2 separate regions of the Homo sapiens genome follow, and region 1 is linked to region 2. Evidence: promoter capture Hi-C in human tissues and cell types (Jung and others, 2019). All regions are on one chromosome and are shown on one strand. The core of a region is centred on a gene start or on the middle of the fragment in contact, and the rest is flanking DNA. Distances in the headings are between cores, read along the strand shown.

Region 1 (3,953 bases), core at 68-2,567, 440 kb before region 2:
TACATGACGAATACGCTGGAAGAATTCTCAGGATATGCTTAAAGCTATGTAGCCTTTAGAACACACACATACATATGCAACATAACACCGGCACAGATGAATAACCATGCAACCTTCACTATAAACCCATGGATGGTGAGTATGCACCAGGGCCAACATACCTGTGAAATTTTCAGGGCATTCTTAAATGTGCTATACAACCTCTAGGATATGCCCATGTGTTACACAACACTCTGCACAGGCACCTCATAAAACCACCCTCATCCCTCCAGTGTGCACGTGTTGCTTGAGCTCCAGGTCATACACACATGCTAAATAACCCACAGCAATAGAAAACACTACACCCTCTGCACAGCCTCCATTTAACAGAGCAGCAAACTGAGACCCTGCTTGTGCCTGGTGACACCATGAGCTAGAGTCAGAGCCGGGACTGAGCCCCTCTGTGCAGCGTATTATTAGCAACCCTCAGCCACTGCACATATATGTTGCCAGGCTCTCCACATACATGTTGCATAACCTCGGTGCACACAGGTTACATAAGCCCTCTACATGCATGCAAGGATTGTATAACCTCCCGCACCCACCCTGCGTGTGGCATGTTGCAGGCCCCTTCCTCCTGGAGCCGGATGCAGCTCCCAACACACTGACACAGTGACCTTGGCCAGGGTCACAGTCACAGACAACCCTATGCTCCACGCCCCGTGGGGATTACTCCGGTCTACTTCCTATGAGGCTGAAAGGTCAGGTCTCCCTCACGCCTCCCAGAGGGTTGGGTGCAGGGGAACTCAGCCCACCTAGGCCCCAGTTGAGCTAGCGGCTTCAGCAGTTACCACCAGACTCACAGCCTCTGAGTGTAGTCCTAGAGATAGCCACAAGGTGGCGCATAGACATGGGGGAGGGGAAGGTGATGGGGGAGGGGTTGCAGTCTTAGGAGACTGGGAACTGGCATTCCTGCCTTTCTCCAAACATTAAGCACAGACTCTTCCAGACCCACAGAAGCCTAAGCTGGGAGACACAGGGGCTGCAAGTGACAGCCACACAGCGACAGGCCAGATCGTCCTCAGAGTCCTTCCTGGGGTGAGGCTTTGGGGGAGGGGAGCTACCCCATGCCCTGCCCAGCTGTGAGTTCCATCTACTTCCTCTACCCTCCAGGGACCCAGTTGTGGGCCTTAGGGCTTTGCCTGGCCAGGCCTCTGGCTTCCTGGCTCGGGATCTGATCTCCTAGGCAACAGTCAGCCACACTGCTCCCCGGAGCACCCCCACCCCCACCCTCTCCCTGGCCATAGGCACAGGCTGTACCCAGCTCCCAGGGCACCGTGCCAACTGGGACAAAGCTCTGTGCCACTTGGAGCTGATAGAAAAGACAGAGACCCTCTGGGCTCCTCAAGGGCAATGCAGATCACAGGTAACCATCCCTTGGTGTATGTGCAGGGCTGACACCTCACCCATGTGGAAGCAAAACCATCATGGTTGGCGTGCACTTTCTGGGAGGAGCCCCATCGCAGTGCCCGCCCTTGACCATGAACAAGGAAGAGCTTGTGGGGCTCCCAATAGATTCCGAATATAAGCTTGGGCTATGACCAATAGTTACTGGTGCATGTGCCCTGAAATGTATTACGTGAACCGCAGCTTGTGGACAACACACTTGTGGTCAGATAGTAAATGGGCTGGTAGGGAGAGGAAGAAAATGGCAAGGCTGTTTGGATCCCACATGCTCAAGGTAAGGGCAGCAATGGTGGAAGGGACGTTGGGGGCATCTGAGACTGCCCAGCAATGTCTAGGGAAGAGCCCCTTATGTGCTCCCTGTAATTGCTCTGTATCGCTCCCCGCTTCAAAATGAGCATCTCTCAATCCAAGTGCCTGTCACATCTGAACATGACTTCATCTGCCAGACAAAGGTAGGCAGAAGGCTTGCTGGCCTCACGTCCATCCCACAGAGGTGCTTAAAGGCGGTGCCTAAAGGAGAGCTCAGCCAGGTGCCCATGCCTGCTGCTTAGGAGTTGGCATGACCTAGTTGCTGAACCCATTACCTGTTCTCCTCTGGGTCTGACCCACACTCCACCTTGCTTGGCTTCTGTTCCATTCACTTCAATTCCATCCAGGATGCCCTCCAGCACGCCAAGAGACTGGGGTGGGCACACTGGCCCCCCCGGCACACCCACAGGCCACCCACCCCCTGCCACCCAGGCCCTAGGGCACAGCACCCATGATACCCGCCTCAGCACTTGGCCTTTCACACCATGCCCTGCGCCCCAAGGGGGGCGGGCGGTGGGAGGGGCCAGGGAGTGGCAGGTGGGAGGGCTGGGGGCAAGCTGGGTTTGTGGGTCCCGGGCTGTGTGCTGGGGGAGTAGCTTCGGAGTCTTGTCCTGTCCAGAGATCCCTGTGGAGAGAAGAGAGAGGCAGGGGTAAGAAGGTGTCACGGTAGGAAGGTGGGTAGGATCCCTTTGGTGGCAACATTTGGGGCTTTGGGATCCCATAACAAGACAGCAGGGGGCAGGAAGGGCAGGCATAGAGAGGGGACCAGGATGATCCCTTAGATAACAGGTACAGCAGGCGAGATTGGAGATCCACCTCCTAAGCCCCAGACATGGGAAGGAATGGAGGGAGAGAATGAGATCATTCATGTACTAAGTAATATGTCTCAGTCTTCATATTCAGACAAATGCCTGGCCCTTAATGAGCAACTATTAAACACTAGCTATTGTTACCACCCCTCTAGAAAAGCTTTCCTGAAACTCATCTGTATTATAGGGGCAAGAGGGGACCAGAGACAAGCAGTTTTCAGCATAGGCAGGGAGGGTATCTGTGAAGGAAGGATGGGACATAGAGCGGCACGCAGTGAGCATGAATGCCCATCTTTGTGCCTTAATAGAGAGAGATGTTGAAAGCTGTAGGGAACTGACCTCCCATGCTGCCAGCCAAGTTATGATCCCCAACTCTGGCCCCTCAGGGACTCCAGAGCTTCCCACGCAAGGTCTCGAATCCCACTTCCCAGGCAGAGGACCAGACTTCTCAGTTGGTTTAGCTGAGCTGCTATCGACCAGGATGGCAAGGGGGAAAGGAAAGGAAACTAACACATATTAACTGGAGAGAGAATCTGTACCCTCCAAAGAGGGCACGAGAACTTCACAGATGAGGAAACTGAGTCTCAGAAAGCTTGGTCATTCACTCAAGTTCACACAACTAGTAAGCAGGTGGCTGTGGGATAAGCCTCACAGCCTGGCCCTAATGCTAGCCTTGTTCTGCTACCTGGAGTCCAGGGCAGTGCCAAGCCGGGCCCACCATTCCTACGGCATTGCACCTCTGACCCTGGGCTGCAGACCTGTGGCTTACTGTCTGTGTGCACACAGGCAGGTGTGGCGGGTAGGAGGGGGACAAAGGGTACAGCTCCCCAACATACGACCTCAACCTCTGTCACGTGGCTGCTGCATAGGAGACCTCACCCCTAGGCCCCCTGGCCCCACCCCCAGGAGCTGATAAGCAGCCAGGGTGGGAAGAGAGAGGGAGATAAGTCAGGGGATTGGGCAGGGCCAGCAGCAGAACGGGGCCTCTGCACCCAGGCAAGCTGGTAGTGTGGAGAGCATGGGCATTGCACAGAAAAGTGGCCCGTTCTACCTCTGATACCCACCCCAGACCAGGACTGGGCACTGGGGGCTGGACAGGAGACTGGGGTGGGGGGGCATGAGCAGGGAGCCTTAGCCCAGGGAGCCATCAAGAAAGTAGGTCAAGTTTTTCTTGGCTTGTGGAGAAATTCCTGTTATAAATTTATAATGGCGTAGCCAGCCCTAAGGGGTGGAGGTTGGGGAGGAGAAGGAGTGGGTGGGGAAGCCCAGGGGCTGGGCACTGGGGCCTAATGCTCTCAGCCAGACAGTGAGGGGCAGGGGGCGAGGGCCGCTACGGGGGTTGGGCTGGACAATAGAGGACGATCTTCTGACTCCACGTCCAGCGAGGCT
Region 2 (3,605 bases), core at 170-2,669:
ACATGTAGAAGGTAGCCCAGCAGACAAGAGAAGGAGGAGGTTTCCAAGCAGCGGGGGCTGGTGTGTGCAAAGTCATGAAGATACGAACAGCAAGGGTAGGCATGGCGCATGCTGCAGTGCCGTATTATTGGACCTTAGGGTGCACACAGGAGACTGCTAGGTCAGATCACAGAGAGCTGTGTAAATTGTGCTAGGGGTTCAGCACATAGGCAATAGAAAGCCAGAAAAAGGTTATCAGCAAGGAACTGGCACCGTAAGACTTGTGTTCTAAAAGGATCACAAGAGTTACAGTTTGGAGACTGGGTTGCAAGCTGCCAGGGCTGGACTGTTGGGAATTGACAATACATCAACAGCGTGGTAACAGAAGAGATGGAGCTGGCCCAGGTTTGAAGGATGTTCAGGAAGTTGGCAGTACTAGGTCACTTTTAAGATGTGGGACTTGAAAGAGAGGAGAAAGTGTAAGGAAATTACCAGACTTCCGGCTGGGTTGGGGTAGAGGAAGAATTAATCTGCAAGGAAAAGACCAGTTCAAGTTTGGACCCAGTGAGCTCCATGTGAAGCAGAGCTGTCCCAATGGCCGCTGGATGGGCAAGCGTGGAGCTCCAGGGAAGGGCTGCGCTGAAGATGTGGATCTGGGTATTTAGTTGGTGTAAAGCTGAAGCCGTGGGGGAAAATAAGACCACTGAGATTCAGTGTACAGAGCGAGGGGTTGGGCGACAGAGGAAAACGTGAAGCGGGACTTTGACCGACTGTCAGAGCGGTACGAAGAAAACCAGGAGACATTGACTAACCCAAAAATGCGGGGTGAGGGAACGTGTCATTAGAAATGAGTGTCAATGGTACTATGCACCTCTAAGAACTCAAGACTTCAAAGGGCCCTTTTAATACCAATTAGGAAGTTATTCACGGCCGTTTCGAAAGGAAGTTGGGGAGACACGGGATGACACTGAGACGCAGAGCTACCGGAATGCGTAGATGTTTTCCTCTCACCCCAGATTCCGACCCCTCCCCATACCTGCCCCTGCTCATAACACCCAGACACCTCACCCTCTCCTCTCCCCTCAGTTAAGACGGAGGCTTTGGAAGGAGATCCCGAACGTCCTCCCCGGGCTCCCCAGGATAGGCGGGGTCGCCAAGAGTCATTGCTGGAGACCCCAACCCGCGCGGGGCGGCGCGAGGCCAGACAGAGGAAGGGGGCGGAACCTGAGACGCAGCGGGTGTGGGAAGGGTCGGACGGAACCCAGCACGGACAGCGGGCGGCGAAGCGGGTTCGACCGGCGGAAGACGGCCCTCGCACGCCACCCGCTCCCAGCGACCGCTCCGGGACCCACCTGCTCCATGTCAGCCACGGCCCCGGCTCTTCCCGCCCCAACCGCAGTCCGGCTCCGCGGCCTCAGTAGCGCCTCAGAGCGGAAGAAGATCTTCCGGCAGCGCCACTTCCGCCGCTGAGTCCGCCCCCGAGAGCGAAGCGGGACTTGCGTTCGCCTGCGGCCCCGCCCCTTCGCCCCGCCTCCAGCCCCGGCCCTGCGCAGAAGCGGACTCAAAGGCCGGAGTCTAAGGGCCTACCTAAGGGTAGGGGAGTGGGAAGAAGACCAGGGCCGTCGTTATTAGGCCACACAGGCCTGGCACTGAGGGAAAAAGGGGAATTTCCCGAGGGGAGTCCTGTGGGGATGGGGAAATCTTTGGAGGAATCCAGTTATTCGAGAAGGACTTCCCCACCCCACCTGCCTCCTTCAGCCATCCCAAGCAGCAGCTAGAACTTCTGTAGTTCTTCCTCTGAGTGCCCCGAGCCTGCTGTCTGCCAGAAAGACTCCTAGACTAGAGGATTGGACAGTAGGGTCAAAACCCTAACCCTTGGTTGACCACCGGCCTTCCCTATCAGGACGCCCCATTACCTCCCTTTTCCTCCTGCTTCCCCTGAAAGAGGAGTCTCAGCAGTTATTTACAAAGATTTATTACAGCACGGGAGGGGTTCAGGCCTGGAGTCAGGGAAGAAGGGGAAAGGGGCAGAGCAGCTGGGGGACAAGGAAAACCTGGCGCCCCCCGCTGTGTGCCCCACCGGGGACATAAACTAGGCGGCATTCCTGGCATCAAAGCACAAAACGCAACAAAGAGGTCTCTGCCAGTCCATCTTCCAGGCACCCAGGAGGAGCAAGGGTGATTAAGGGAAGATTCCCAAAATGTTGAGGCTATGGAGAAAAACGCCTTAGTCCTGGACCCTGGTAGAAGCCGGTGAGAGAAGTGGTGACTTGGAATCCTCCATAGGAAAGTGGGTAGAAAAGGATCTAAGGGTACCTCAAGGTTCTCAGGACCTCCTTTCCCCAGATCTTAGGGTCCTGCCCTGTGGGTCTCCTGTGTCCAGGGGAGAGGATCTGGGGAGTAGAATTGTGAAGGGCAAATCCCTGTTCCCGGTTTTCTGGATTTTCCAATGTGGGCTGTCTCACATCCCACCTCCCGCTGGGTGAATGGAGGAATGACTGGCAGGGGTGGGCATCAGGCAGCAAGTGCCCAGGTTCTCTGGGTATCAGCCAAAGGTGGGCAAACAAGCAAACACAGACCAGCCTTAGTCTTCTAGAAGTCAGAAGCCGCAGCCCTAGCAGGCGAGGGGAAGAGCACAAAACAGGGTGAGGATAGAGTGGGTTTCTGGGGAACAGCGATGTCCCCTCCACTTCCTCCTGGGAGATGCAGGCTGGGTGCCTATGTGCCAGGCTCAGAGGGGGAAGGGCGCTGAGGTTCCTCCCCAGGCTCTGAAAGGCAAGCAGAGAGGGACTCAGGGCCTGGCCCCACCCACCAAGATCCCAGCCCCTCCTCCCCATTTCACACTCCCAAGCCTTACCACTTAGTGCTGGGTCTTCCACTTGGTCCTCAGAGCCTCCATCTCTCTCGGACTCATCCAGAGGGGGTGGGCGCTCCCAGGGCCCTTCCAGACCCTGGCCACAGGTTGTCTTTTGCCCAGCTGGGGATGGGAAAGAAGAGATAAGAACACAGGCTCTGCGTATCCATCCGGCTGTCCTGGAGTGTGAGCTAAGTGTCTGATGGCTGAGGTTAAGCTTTCCAGGGGCATCATGGAAGCATGGAGAGAGAACTGGGCTAGAACAGCTCTCCCAGCAACTAGCCATATGGCTTACGTAAGTCAGTTAGTACCTTTCTGAAGGAAATAGAAAGGGGGAAATTGTGTAGATTACCTTAAACAAGATGTAATAGTGAATACCCTGCCCAGCCCAGCGCCAGCACCCAGGAGCCACTAGGAGTCGTGGTGGTTTATATTGCTCCATCATAGGACTATCATTTGACCCGGTGCCCTTCTGCATTTTTTGTTTGTTTGTTTTTTTTTGTTGTTTTGTTTTGGTTTTTTGTTTTTGTTTTTGAGATGGAGTCTCACTCTGTTGCCCAGGCTGGAGTGCAGTGGTGCGATCTCAGCTCACTGCAACTTCCACCTCCCAGGTTCAGGGGATTCTTCTGCCTCAGCCTCCCAAGCAGCTGGGATTACAGGTGTGTGCCACTGTGCCTGGCTAATTTTTGTATTTTTATTACAGATGGGGTTTCACCATGTTGGCTGGACTGGTCTTGAACTCCAGACCTCAAGTGATCCGCTAGCCTTGGCA

What was found. Contacts are between HindIII fragments. The study calls those that stand out against the background at their distance.
Region 1: a fragment that was not itself captured here is called in contact with the fragment with the promoter of STARD3 in region 2 in 4 of the 25 tissues and cell types used here (dorsolateral prefrontal cortex, hippocampus, lymphoblastoid cells and 1 more).

What each region holds. Positions count from the first base shown.
Region 1 is chr17:40,072,619-40,076,571 of GRCh38, reverse strand. THRA (thyroid hormone receptor alpha) reads right to left here. Exons shown (of 9, transcript NM_199334.5): 2 at 2,031-2,380. The coding sequence starts at 2,083. Among named protein-coding and RNA genes, the nearest start is that of THRA, 12 kb to the right of the region's middle. RefSeq lists enhancers at 730-809, 933-1,788. The HindIII fragment of the contact is 5,644 bases long and covers 1-3,953 here.
Region 2 is chr17:39,634,958-39,638,562 of GRCh38, reverse strand. STARD3 (StAR related lipid transfer domain containing 3) reads right to left here and starts at 1,419. Exons shown (of 15, transcript NM_006804.4): 1 at 1,332-1,419. PPP1R1B (protein phosphatase 1 regulatory inhibitor subunit 1B) reads right to left here. Exons shown (of 7, transcript NM_032192.4): 6 at 2,837-2,956; 7 at 1,939-2,747. The coding sequence ends at 2,698. It overlaps LOC124903998 (a long non-coding RNA gene), which reads left to right and starts at 1,273. Exons shown (of 2, transcript XR_007065749.1): 1 at 1,273-1,572; 2 at 3,537-3,605. RefSeq lists enhancers at 748-867, 2,651-3,274 and a silencer at 1,408-1,477. The HindIII fragment of the contact is 10,179 bases long and covers 1-3,605 here.